2 separate regions of the Homo sapiens genome follow, and region 1 is linked to region 2. The links are contacts of gene promoters, found by promoter capture Hi-C in human tissues and cell types (Jung and others, 2019). All regions are on one chromosome and are shown on one strand. Each heading gives the region's core, a stretch centred on a gene start or on the middle of the fragment in contact. The rest is flanking DNA. Distances are from core to core; before and after follow the strand shown. Region 1 overlaps FKBP5 (FKBP prolyl isomerase 5). Region 2 holds the start of PPARD (peroxisome proliferator activated receptor delta).

What was found. The method cuts DNA at HindIII sites, captures the fragments that hold promoters and counts their contacts. A contact is called where the count stands out against the background at its distance.
Region 1: a fragment that was not itself captured here is called in contact with the fragment with the promoter of PPARD in region 2 in 1 of the 25 tissues and cell types used here (liver).

Annotation. Positions count from the first base shown.
Region 1 is chr6:35,602,075-35,607,810 of GRCh38, forward strand. The region is part of intron 5 of FKBP5 (FKBP prolyl isomerase 5); the gene reads right to left. It also overlaps the pseudogene RPL36P9. Among named protein-coding and RNA genes, the nearest start is that of MIR5690, 60 kb to the right of the region's middle. RefSeq lists a silencer at 298-592. The HindIII fragment of the contact is 9,658 bases long and covers 1-5,736 here.
Region 2 is chr6:35,341,308-35,346,853 of GRCh38, forward strand. It overlaps PPARD (peroxisome proliferator activated receptor delta), which reads left to right and starts at 1,251. Exons shown (of 8, transcript NM_006238.5): 1 at 1,251-1,374. RefSeq lists silencers at 1,103-1,312, 1,493-1,632, 1,663-1,712. The HindIII fragment of the contact is 18,171 bases long and covers 1-5,546 here.

The sequences.
Region 1 (5,736 bases), core at 1,265-3,764, 260 kb after region 2:
AGAGCACAGAACACCCTGTTCTGAATGTGGCTGGCACATGAACTCGATGTGCTGACAGCAATTTGTACTCCGATTAAAATAGGGGGGAAAAAAGGAAAGAGAGTGCACAGCAGTAACAAAAATGAAATGCAAGAACCCCTAAACCATGCAATTTGTATTTTAGGAAGCAAAACTGAGAAAGAGGCTCCATAACTTAAAAAACAAAAAACAAAAAGCTGTAAATGCTCCAGCCTAAAGACATTAGCTCTGGTAAGTGTCTATTTTTCCCTTTTCTAATTATAGTAGTTGGTGTCTGATAGCTTTGCACTCATTCTCAAAACAATTACTGGGTCATGAGGATCTGAATGGGAATGTTGTAATGGCATTACTACTCGACAAGACTGGTTATCTGGCCAGAGAAAACCAGGTTGTGACAGGTTACTCCCACTGAGCAAGAGTTTTCTCTGTTGCCTAATTCATGCCAAGTGAGCTTCTTTCTGCCTGTGTCTCCTGCCTAATAGAGCACAGTATCCAAGAGAGTAGGATCTTAATAACCCCCTGAAAAAGCAAGCAGAGATGGCTTTCTAAAAGCAGGAGAACAAGAGAAATACTTCCAACACGCATGGTGGTCAGATTTCCCCTAAGCTGTCCGCCTTCCTCCTCTGCACTGTTTTGTACTACTTAGGATGAACACACACCACTGTAAGATTGCTTACAGAACTGACGGACAGATGCTAACAGGCGTGGAACCTGGCTCCTGGAACTGAATAACATTTATGCAAATGATTTCTTTTGGTTGATCAAGTTTGAATGTTTTCAAAACAGGAAATCTAAACAAGAAGTATACACCCAGCAACAAATTCTCCATGAACACCAACCCTTACCAGTCTTCCCTTCACACCACTATAGCACTTGAGTTAGACCTGGATTCCAGTCCCATTCTGCCACTTCAATTATGACTTTGGGCAAGGTAATTAAAGTGATCTGAAGCTCAGTTTCTTCACTGATAGAATGTGGATAATACACTAGCTAAATGATAATTGTTGAGAGGATTAAATTAGATACTGAATTAGAGCTTTTAATCTAGCACCTGATATTCATTCATTCATTCATTCATATGTCAGGGTGTCTATCATGTGAAAATGCTGTTGTTAAGTGTGGATATACAGAGACAAACTAAAGGAATGTTAGCTATAATTATTTTCCTGTGCCTAGTGGTAAATTATACCAGATTAAACATGTTTTAGAGCTCTGTGTAAGAAAACATTTACTGGTTCAACACAGAAAGCTGTCAAAGTATGAATAAAATTCTTAGTAGGCAAAGGCAGTATCTTGTACTTCTTTTGTGCCTCACAGTACCCAGCACAGAGTTCAGGGCCAGCAAGTAAATATTTATTTAATGACTAATCTTAAAATAGGGCATTAAGGACAGGGTGGTAATTTTCACTAATTTATACAAATTTTCCTTTTTGAATCTATTAGTATTCCTATTTTAATAAATTCTAGGAAGCTATACAAATTTTATATTGATATGGAAACTTTGTTTTTTAATACTATTCTAAAATAAATGGCCAATTGGCTGGAATTTTTTTTTTTTTTGTAACAACAACAACAGCAGCAGCAGCAACAAAAGACTGTTTTCTTTCTTTTTTTGAGACAGAGTCTCGTTCTGTTGCCCAGGCTGGAGTGTAGTGGCGTGATCTTGCCTCACTACAACCTTCACTTACTGCAACCATCTGCCTCCCGAGTTCAAGGACTTCTTGTGCCTCAGACTCCCAAGTAGCTGGGACTACAGGCCCGCACCACCATGCCCAGCTAATTTTTGTGTTTTTAGTAGAGATGGGGTTTCGCCATGTTGGCCAGGCTGGTCTTGAACTCCCGACCTCAAGTGATCCTCCAGCCTTGGCCTCCCAGAGTGCTGGGATTACAGGTGTGAGCCACCGTGCCCGGCCTCTTTATTGTTTTTGTTTTGAGTTGGGGGTCTCACTTTGTTGCCCAGCCTGGAGTGCAGTGGTGTGATCATGGCTCACTGCAGCCTCACACTCCTGGACTCAAGCTACTCTCCTTCCTCAGCCTCCCTAGTAGCTGGGACTACAGGCACACACCACCACGCCTGGCTATTTTGTTGTTGTTGTTGTTAAGAATGGGGTCTCACCATGTTGCCAGGCTGGTCTTGTACTCCTGGCCTCAAGCAACCCTCCCACCTTGGCTTCCCGAAGTGTTGGGATTACAAGCGTGAGCCACCATGGCTGGCCAGAAAGACTTATTTTCTACTATGATTTTATTCTACCTGAAGACTTGAAGATAACTTTTTGGAAGAAAGAAATTATATAAATCCAAAATATTTGAAAGAATAAACACTGGCCACTTTAGACCAAGTACCATATTACATTATTTTGTGAAAACATATAATAAAATGGTTTCAAGAATTTGCTCCTATTCCTAGACTTATATCCCAGGACATTCATAAATACTTCAAAAGCATATGAAAAACAAAAATGTAAAGTCTCACAGCTCCATCAGATCTCAATATGGGCAGACGTAATCTTTCCTCTATTTTCAATTTTTGGTACCTTTTTGATTTTAGTGTTTCATTTATAAAGAACACATAGCTAGATACTGTTGTTGTTCTCACTTTATGAGACCTTTTGCCTTTAATAGGTGACTTTATCCCATTCATATTTTTTGTAATCACTGATATGAGTGGTTTTATTCTTGTCTTTGGTTTTCTACACAGTGTTTTCTTTTTTTTTTTGAGATGGAGTCTCGCTCTGTTGCCCAGGCTGGAGTGCAGTGGTGTGATCTCGGCTCACTACAACCTCCACCTCCCGGGTTCACGCCATTCTCCTGCCTCCCAAGTAGCTGGGACTACAGGCGCCCGCCACCATGCCCAGCTAATTTTTTGTATTTTTAGTAGAGATGGGGTTTCACCATGTTAGCCAGGATGGTCTCGATTCCTGACCTCGTGATCCACGTGCCTCGGCCTCCCAAAGTGCTGGGATTACAGGCGTGAGCCACCGTGCCCGGCCCGTGTTTTCTTATTTTTTAAAACAATTTTTGCTCAATTGATGAAGTTTTCCTTGTTCCTCTATTTCCCCACTCCACATGGGGTGATTTGGAAATTCTACATGCTATTCTTACTAGTACTTTCCATTAAAGTCTGAACAAATCATTTAAAGATATATATATATACCTCTTTATCAATGTTCAGAATCAATCAGCATAAAGCATTCAATAAAATCCAACATCCCTTCATTATAAAAAACCCTCAATAAACTAAGCATCAAAGGAACATACTTCAAAATAATAAGAGCCACCTATGACAATATCTTTTTTTTTTTTTTTTTTTTTTTTTTTTTTGAGACAAGGTCTTATTCCATTGCCCAGGCTGGAGTGCAGTGGTGCAACCATAACTCACCGAAGCCTGTATCACCCAGGCTCAAGTGATCCTCCTGCATCAGCCTCCCAAGTAAGCTGGGACTACAGGTGCATGCCACTATGTGTGGCTAATTTTTTTTATTTTTAGTAGAGACAAGGTTTCACTATGCTGCCCAGGCTGGTCTTGAACTCCTAGGCTCATGCAATCCTCCTGCCTCGGCCTTCCAAAGTCTTGGGATTACAGGTGTGAACCACTGCACCCAGCCGTCAATATCATACTGAACGGGCAAAAGTTGGAAGCATTCCGCCTAAGAACTGGAAAAAAACAGGGTGTCCACTCTTAACAACTCCTATTCAGCATGGTACTGAGCCACAGCAATCAGTATGCGGCAAGTCCTAGCCTGAGCAATCAGGCAAGAGAAAGAAATAAAAGGCATCCAAATAGGAAACCAGACGTCTACCTCTCACCATATACAAAAACAAACTCAAGATGGATTAAAGGCTTAAATGTAAGGCCTGAAACTATATAAATCCTAGAAGAAAAGCTAGAAAATACTCTTCTGGACATTGCCTAGGCAAATAATTTATGATTAAGTCCCCAAAATCAAATGCAACAAAAAGAAAAACTGACAGTTGGGACCTAATTAAAGAGCTTCAGCACAGCAAAATAAGCTATCAACGAAGCAGATGGACAAACTACAGAATGGGAGAAAACATTTGCAAATTATGCATCTGACAAAGGACTAATATCCAGAAAAGAACTTAAACAAATCAACAAGAAAAAAGCAAATAGCCCCATTAAAAAGTAGGCAAAGGACACGAAGAAGCAGCCAACGAACATGAAAAAATGCCGAACATCACTAATCATCAGAGAAATGCAAATCAAAACCACAATGAGATACCATCTCACAACTGAGTCAGAATGACTATTAATAAAAAGTCAAGGCCGGGCGCTGTGACTCATGCCTTTAATCCCAGCACTTTGGGAGGCCGAGGCAGGCAGATCATGAGGTCAGGAGATCGAGACCATCCTGTCTAACACGGTGAAACCCCGTCTCCACTAAAAATATTTTAAAAAATTAGCCGGGCGTGGTGGTGGGCGCCTGTAGTCCCAGCTACTCGGGAGGCTGAGGCAGGAGAATGGCGTGAACCTGGGAGGCGGGAGTTGCAGTGAGCCAAGATCGCGCCACTGCACTCCAGCCTGGGCAACAGAATGAGACTCCGTCTCAAAAAAAAAAAAAAAAAAAAAAAAAAAAAAAAAAAAAGTCAAAAAAGAACAGATGTTGGCAAGGTTGTGGAGAAAAGGGAATGCTTAAACAGTGTTGATGAGAATGGAAATTAGTTCAGCTCCTGTGGAAAGCAGTTTTGGAAATTTCTCGAAGAACTAAAAATCAAAGTACCATTTGACCCAGCAATCCCATTACTGGGTATACAACCAAAGGAAAATAAATCGTTCTATCAGAAAGATAGCTGGCATTTACACTGACATGTTTACTGCAGCATTGTTTGTGTGTTTGTTTGTTTTTTGAGACAGAGTCTCACTCTGTTGCCCAGGCTGGACTGCAGTGGCAGAATCTCAGCTGACTACAACCTCCACCTCCCAGGTTCAAGCAATTCTGCCTCAGCCTCCCAAGTAGCTGGGACTACAGGCGCCCACCACCACACCCAGCTAATTTTTGTATTTTTAGTAGAGGCAGGGTTTCACCATGTTGGCCAGGCTGGTCTTGAACTCCTGACCTCAAATGATCCACCCACCTCAGCCTCCCAAAGTGCTAGGATTACAGGCATGTGCCACCACGCCCAGCCTGTTTTGTTTTGAGACAGGGTCTCGCTTTGTTGCCCAGGTTAGACTGCAGTGGTATAAATGTGACTCAAATGATCCTCCCACTACAGCCTCCTGAGTAGCCGGCACTACAGGCATGCACCACCATGCTTGGCCTTTTTTTTTTTTCTGTAGAAATGGGGTCTTACTATGTTGCCCAGTTTGGTCTTAAACTCCTGGGCTCAAGTGACCATCCCACCTTGGCCTCCCAAAGTGCTGGGATTACAGGCATGAGCCACACACAGCACTTACTCTTAAGCACAGTTATATTCTTAATAGCAAAGACACGGAGTCAACCTAGGTGTCCATCAATGGTGGATTGGATAAAAATGTGGGCTTCCTTCTGCCACGGCCACCATTGGAGAGCAGCGGCCATGGCTCTGTGCTGCCCTATGGCCATGGGCCTCAACAAGGGCCACAAGGTGACCGAGAACATGAGGACGCCCAGGCACAGCCGCTGCTGCAGGCACCTGACCAAATATACCAAGTTCGTGCCGGACATGATCTGAGAGCTGTGTGGCTTCACCCCATACGAGCGGTGCACCATGGAGTTACTG
Region 2 (5,546 bases), core at 1-2,500:
GGAGGTTGACATCTAAGTTACAAATATAATGCACAAGCATTTCAAAAAGTAGGGGAAAAAAAAGAAAAAGAAAAAGAGAAGCAGAAAGAAGGGGGAAAAAATCACTCATCCCTGCCAGGCACGGTGGCTCACGCCTGTAATTCCAGCACTTTGGGAGGCTAAGGTGGGAGGATAACTTGAGTCCAGGAGTTCAAGACCAGCCTGGGCAACATGGCAAAACCCTGTCTCTACTAAAATTACAATAATTAGCTGGGCGTGTGGCGCATGCCTGTAATCCCAGCTACTTGGGAGGTTGAGGCAGGATAATCGCTTGAACCCGGGAGGCGGAGGTTGCAGCGGGCTGAGATTGCGCAACTGCACTCCAGCAGGGGCGACAGAGTGAAACTGTGTCTCAAAAAAAAAAAAAAAAAAAAAAATCACTCATCCAGATAGCTAGGTGTGGCCTAAGGAGCTTGCGGCCTACGGAAGGTGTGGCCGAAGGAGAGGGGAGGGGTCATCTTTAATGATGATGGAGGGGAGGCATTGGTCATATACCTGAGAGTCAAGCTTTGTTCATCGTCAGATGAAAGCCAACTTCTTCCACCAGATTGCCTCCCAGCTGCTAGGTAGTTTCCTGTGGTACATCTTAAGCGGTAGGTTGGGATAATAGGTCCCTTCCAGGTCTTAAAGATGTGGATTAATAAGAACAGAATTTTCTACAACAATAAGGAGGATGTCCCCTATTTTAGGTGAATAAGCGTATTGCATAAGCACATGGGAAGAAAGGTTAAGAACTCTAAGACCGTAAATTTCCAGTTGTAGAAGCCTCTTGAAGGCGGAAAGCCCTTTTTTGAAAATTATAGGCGATATGATCTCCTCCAGTGGACCTAGCACTGGGTTAAGAGTCTCTCCAGACTTGTCACTGCAAGTCACGTACCTTTTCTAGGACTAAGTTTCTTCACTGGAAGATGAGGAGGTTGCACTAGATGACCTAGAAATTCCCTTCCAGCTTTAAATTCCCTCTTGTGTCACTTGCTGGACTTGTTCTACTGGACCTGGCGCTCCCCTGCTCCTCCCTTAGCTGCTACGTCCGCATCCCGCACCAGAGGGCGCCACAGGCTGGCCCGGGGCAGCGTGCGGTGGGCGGAGAGGCAGAATTAGGGGAGTCTCCAGGAGGCGTGGTGATTGGCCGCCGCCGGGCGGAAGGGGGCGTGGGGAGGGAAAGGCCGAGCAGCGCGGTGACGTCTCGCTGGCGGGGGCGGGGCCGGGCCGCGGAGCGTGTGACGCTGCGGCCGCCGCGGACCTGGGGATTAATGGGAAAAGTTTTGGCAGGAGCGGGAGAATTCTGCGGAGCCTGCGGGACGGCGGCGGTGGCGCCGTAGGCAGCCGGGACAGGTCAGTCCGAGACGAGAGAAGCGGTCAGGCAAGTGGCGGAGGGAAGCGCCGGGCCTGGGCCGAGGCGGCCAGCGGGACTGGGGCGCAAGGCCCGGCGGCGGGGAACGGGGTGCGGGGAGCTGCCGGGGTCCGCGGACAGCGTCACGGCGGCTTCCTGATGCTCCGGCCCGCTCCGGTCAGCCGTCGTGCGTTGCCATGTAGGCGCCCCGCTGACCCTGCGCCCCCCCGCCCTTGGACCCCCATAGCTGCTTGAGTGAGTCCGAAATACGGGCCTCCTTCCACCCTACTCTTTGCCCCCTCTTGGGCCTGGTGGCTTCGTCTTCTCCCACTTGTGAGAACCCCGTCTCAGGCCCGGGGGCCTCTCCCATTCCCCTCCCCTGCCTCTGACCTCTTCCTTCACCCGTTTCTGGTGTTCCTGAATCCACTGCCCTATCTAGCGAGAGTCTTCTCTGGGATCTTTTCCTCTGTCCCCCTCGTTATCCTTGTCTCCTGCCTTCATCCTCCCATCCTTGCTCTCTCAGGCTTTACTCTCTCTCCCCATCCCTGTCCCCTTCTTATCTGTGGTCTGATCCCTCCTAGTATTATGGGTCCCCATCCTCTTCCCCAGGGTGTTCCTAGGCTTTTTCCAACTCCGTGCCTGCAGTCCCTGTCTCCCTAAGACTCTCACCTTGGTTCCCTGAGAGGCCCTGTTTTTGCTCCTTTTTCCGATTTCCTTCGTATCAATTCTGTCCCCTACATTCCTGTCGCCCACCTCCTTTTCTCTCCCTGTTCCTTTCCCCTGCTTCAGGGAGAAGCCTTAGCTCCACACTCTACTCTACTTTCACTTGACCTGCAGTTGACATAACCATGGGGTGGGGGTGGAGGTGTTCAGACCTTGATCGAATTAAGAGGCTGATTGACTAAAGGAAATAACAGATTGTGTGGGAGAATGTACGTGGGTGTTGCATCAGAGATGATGTCCAATTTGTAGGCCATTCTTCTTATCTCAGCTTTAATACTTCCCCTTTATGGGGCTGTTGACTTCCAGGAACCCTTGGGGGAGACGGCGCTGAGCTGGATGTGTGCCACGGGTAGCCGGAGGCTTTGTCCAATTCTTTTCCCCTTCCAGGAACCGGGGTTTTGTGTCTTTCCACTCTGGATGTGTGGAATACACTTATACCATGATACCCCAGCCTCTCTCTGCCCTCACTCCCACCCTCCACCCTGTGCTCCATCCGAAAGGACTAAGAGAATTCTCCAGAAGCTGTGCTCCAGAAAATACTTGTGGTCCTCAACCTTTTTTCTGTGTACTGGCTCCAGAACTTTTTTTTTTCCCGTTTGAGTTTTGAAATAGATTGCTGGCCTGATAGCCCTGGGGCTGGCGGGCATCTGTCCCCTTTTATTATTGGTGGCTTGAAACAGCTGCTGATTTTCTCTCATATCTCTTTGACAATCTTTGGCCAACTGAATGTGCCTCTGATGTTGGTCACTGAACATGTTCTCTTGGAGTCTCTTCTCCCTCTTTTTTCTTTGTTCTTTTCTGAATCTAGGGAATCCAAATTGTCCCTCTTTTTCCCTGGGAGCTTAATTTCCTCTGTATCCAGGAGGAACGGCAATCCCAGAGCTCTGTTCCCTTTGCCCAGGCATAGTATGAGGTATCAGATTGATAACTACCCTGGTGGGCTGTGGGGCTGCAGTAGTTAGACCTTGTCAGGAACTTGAGCAGACACATCTGCTTCCAGTCACATAGATCATCTTCTCTGGGGCTTGAGAGCCCACCACCTTCCATGTGTGTCTGGATGTTTAACCTTACCAAGCAGAAGATTCTCGTCATATCCTTCAGTTTGAGCTCCTTTATTTGGCGTTGGTTCTCTAAAGAAGTATTCAAGAAATAACATATCCTTTGTTTCTACCCAGTCTGATCTTGGAGGATTCTGAAAGCGTGACCCACTCTCATGTTTAGAAATGAAGGCTCATTGTTTCACCTGGCCCCAGGTTTCTAGGGGCTCCTCTTTTGATGATTGTGCTGTCTTTGAGCCAGATTGGACATGGGAGTTGGCAACCTTTAGGAGCTGCGGTGGAGAGCCAAAGGAACCAGCTTGACCAGACTTTAAAGTTTTGTAATCCTCTTGTACACTGTTTTCTGTGAAAGCAATAGGATTGTGGATGGCCTGTTGTTGAGCCAGTCCCTTCTCCACTGACCCCCAGACCCCCTTTGCAGCACTTGCAAAGATTTGGGTAGACTGGACCAGAGGGTTTTCCTTGTTCCTGTGAATAGCATCTCTCCAGGGTTTTAGTGGATCATTCTAAAGAGGTAGAGGTCAAGTGTTGGACAGATTTTTAGTCTAGTCTCTGGCTTTCAAGGACTCCTCCTTACTCTTTTGAGCAGTTTGTTACTTCTGGCCGTGCTTACCCCTTAGTAGTGCTCTCTGCTGTGGTGGCAGGTGAGAGATTTGAGAACAGGTCAAGGCCAGTCCTTGTGGAGCAGCTTGGGCACCAGCAGCCCTAGATGGATAGCTTCTTGCAGTTTGTCCACTCTCATTTTCTGAGAAGGTAGTCATGATTGTCAATTACCAAATTCCTTCCCCATTCAGTGATTTTTGCAGAGTCTGGGTCTGGATTTTCTTTCCTTCTTTCTTTTCTGACACAAGGTTTTGTTCTATTGCCCAGGCTGGAGTGCAGTGGTGCTATCATAGTGCACTGTAACCTCGAACTCCTGGGCTCAAGGGATCTTCCTGCTTCAGCCTCCAGAGTAGCGGGGACTACAGGTGCACACCACCACACTCAGCTAATTAAAAAACAATTTTTTTGTAAAGACAGGCTCTCACAATGTCTCGAACTCCTGGCCTCAAGCAGTCCTCCTCACCTTGGCCTCTCAGAGCACTGAGATTACACTGACTGCTCGTTCAGGTGCCTTTCTCCTTGCCTCTTCACCATGGCCTTCTTGTGTGATATATGCCTTAACCCATTCAGGAAGAATTGCTCCTACTCAGCCTTTCAACCCGACCTGTGGTCCCTTAGACGCCTTCCCTTAGGGCCTGGTAAGAGGATAGACAGTGTAGAGCACTAGCCTGGGAAGCCATTAGGCCTCTGCTTTGGGCCTACAGCTGTCCTGACTGTTGTGCAAGCTGTCTTCAGGGCCTGCAGATTCTGGCACATCCTGGGATAGTGCAGCTCCTCTCTCTCAGGAGTTGGACCTGTCACTTTTTTTTCGTTTTTTTTTTTTTTTTTTTTGAGATGGAGTCTCGCTCTGTCGCCCAGGCTGGAGTGCAGTGGTGCGATCTTGGCTCACTGCAAGCTCCATCTCCCAGGTTCACGCCATTCTTCTGCCTCAGCCTCCTGAGTAGCTGGGACTACAGGCGCCCGCCACCACGCCTGGCTCATTTTTTTTTGTAGTTTTAGTAGAGACAGGGTTTCACCGTGTTAGTCGAGATGGTCTCGATTTCCTGACCTCGTGATCTGCCCGCCTCAGCCTCCCAAAGTGCTGGGATTACAGGCGTGAGCCACCACAACCAGCCTGGACCTGTCACTTCTAAGGGCTTCAGCTATATCCTGTCCCTGAGGCCCACCTCCCTGAGTGCTCTCTGCAGGCTGGGAAGCTGAACAGTGGTGCCTTGCTCCAGTGCCTCTGAAGGGCTTGGAAATTGCAGGACACAGCTTTACTGCTCAGCATTGCCCACACTGGAAACATTCTCTTCCTCCCTACCCAGGTCTCTGTGGGCTTTGTCCGTTCTGCCAGGCCCTTGCTTATATGATGTCAGAAGCCCTGTGCCCGGTGCCATTGTCAATGCCATGTCCCAGATTACCTAATGGCTGCTTCTTGGAGATGGTTTGGTGTCCATGCACATTTTTCTCTGCCGTTGGAGCCAGGGTGAGGAGCTGCTTGCAACAGCTGGATTCCAGGGTGTCAGAGGAGCCCTTGGAGCTTGCCTTGAGCCTGGCAGGGAGAACATGGCCCCTTGCATCAGGTTTCAGACATATGGGTCTTCTTCCTTGGCAGATGGCTCCTAGCCTTCATAACTCAGCAGGCTGGTGATTGGCATGTGACTCCAGTTCATTCTGCAGGGGCTTTGGTGAAGGCATCAACTATGACTCAGGACATCTTCATTTATGAGCTTCTACCCAGCTCCCTTCTTACCTTGCCTGCGCCTTCTGCGCCGACCTGATAAAATCAGCAAAGCCAGTGTCTGCTT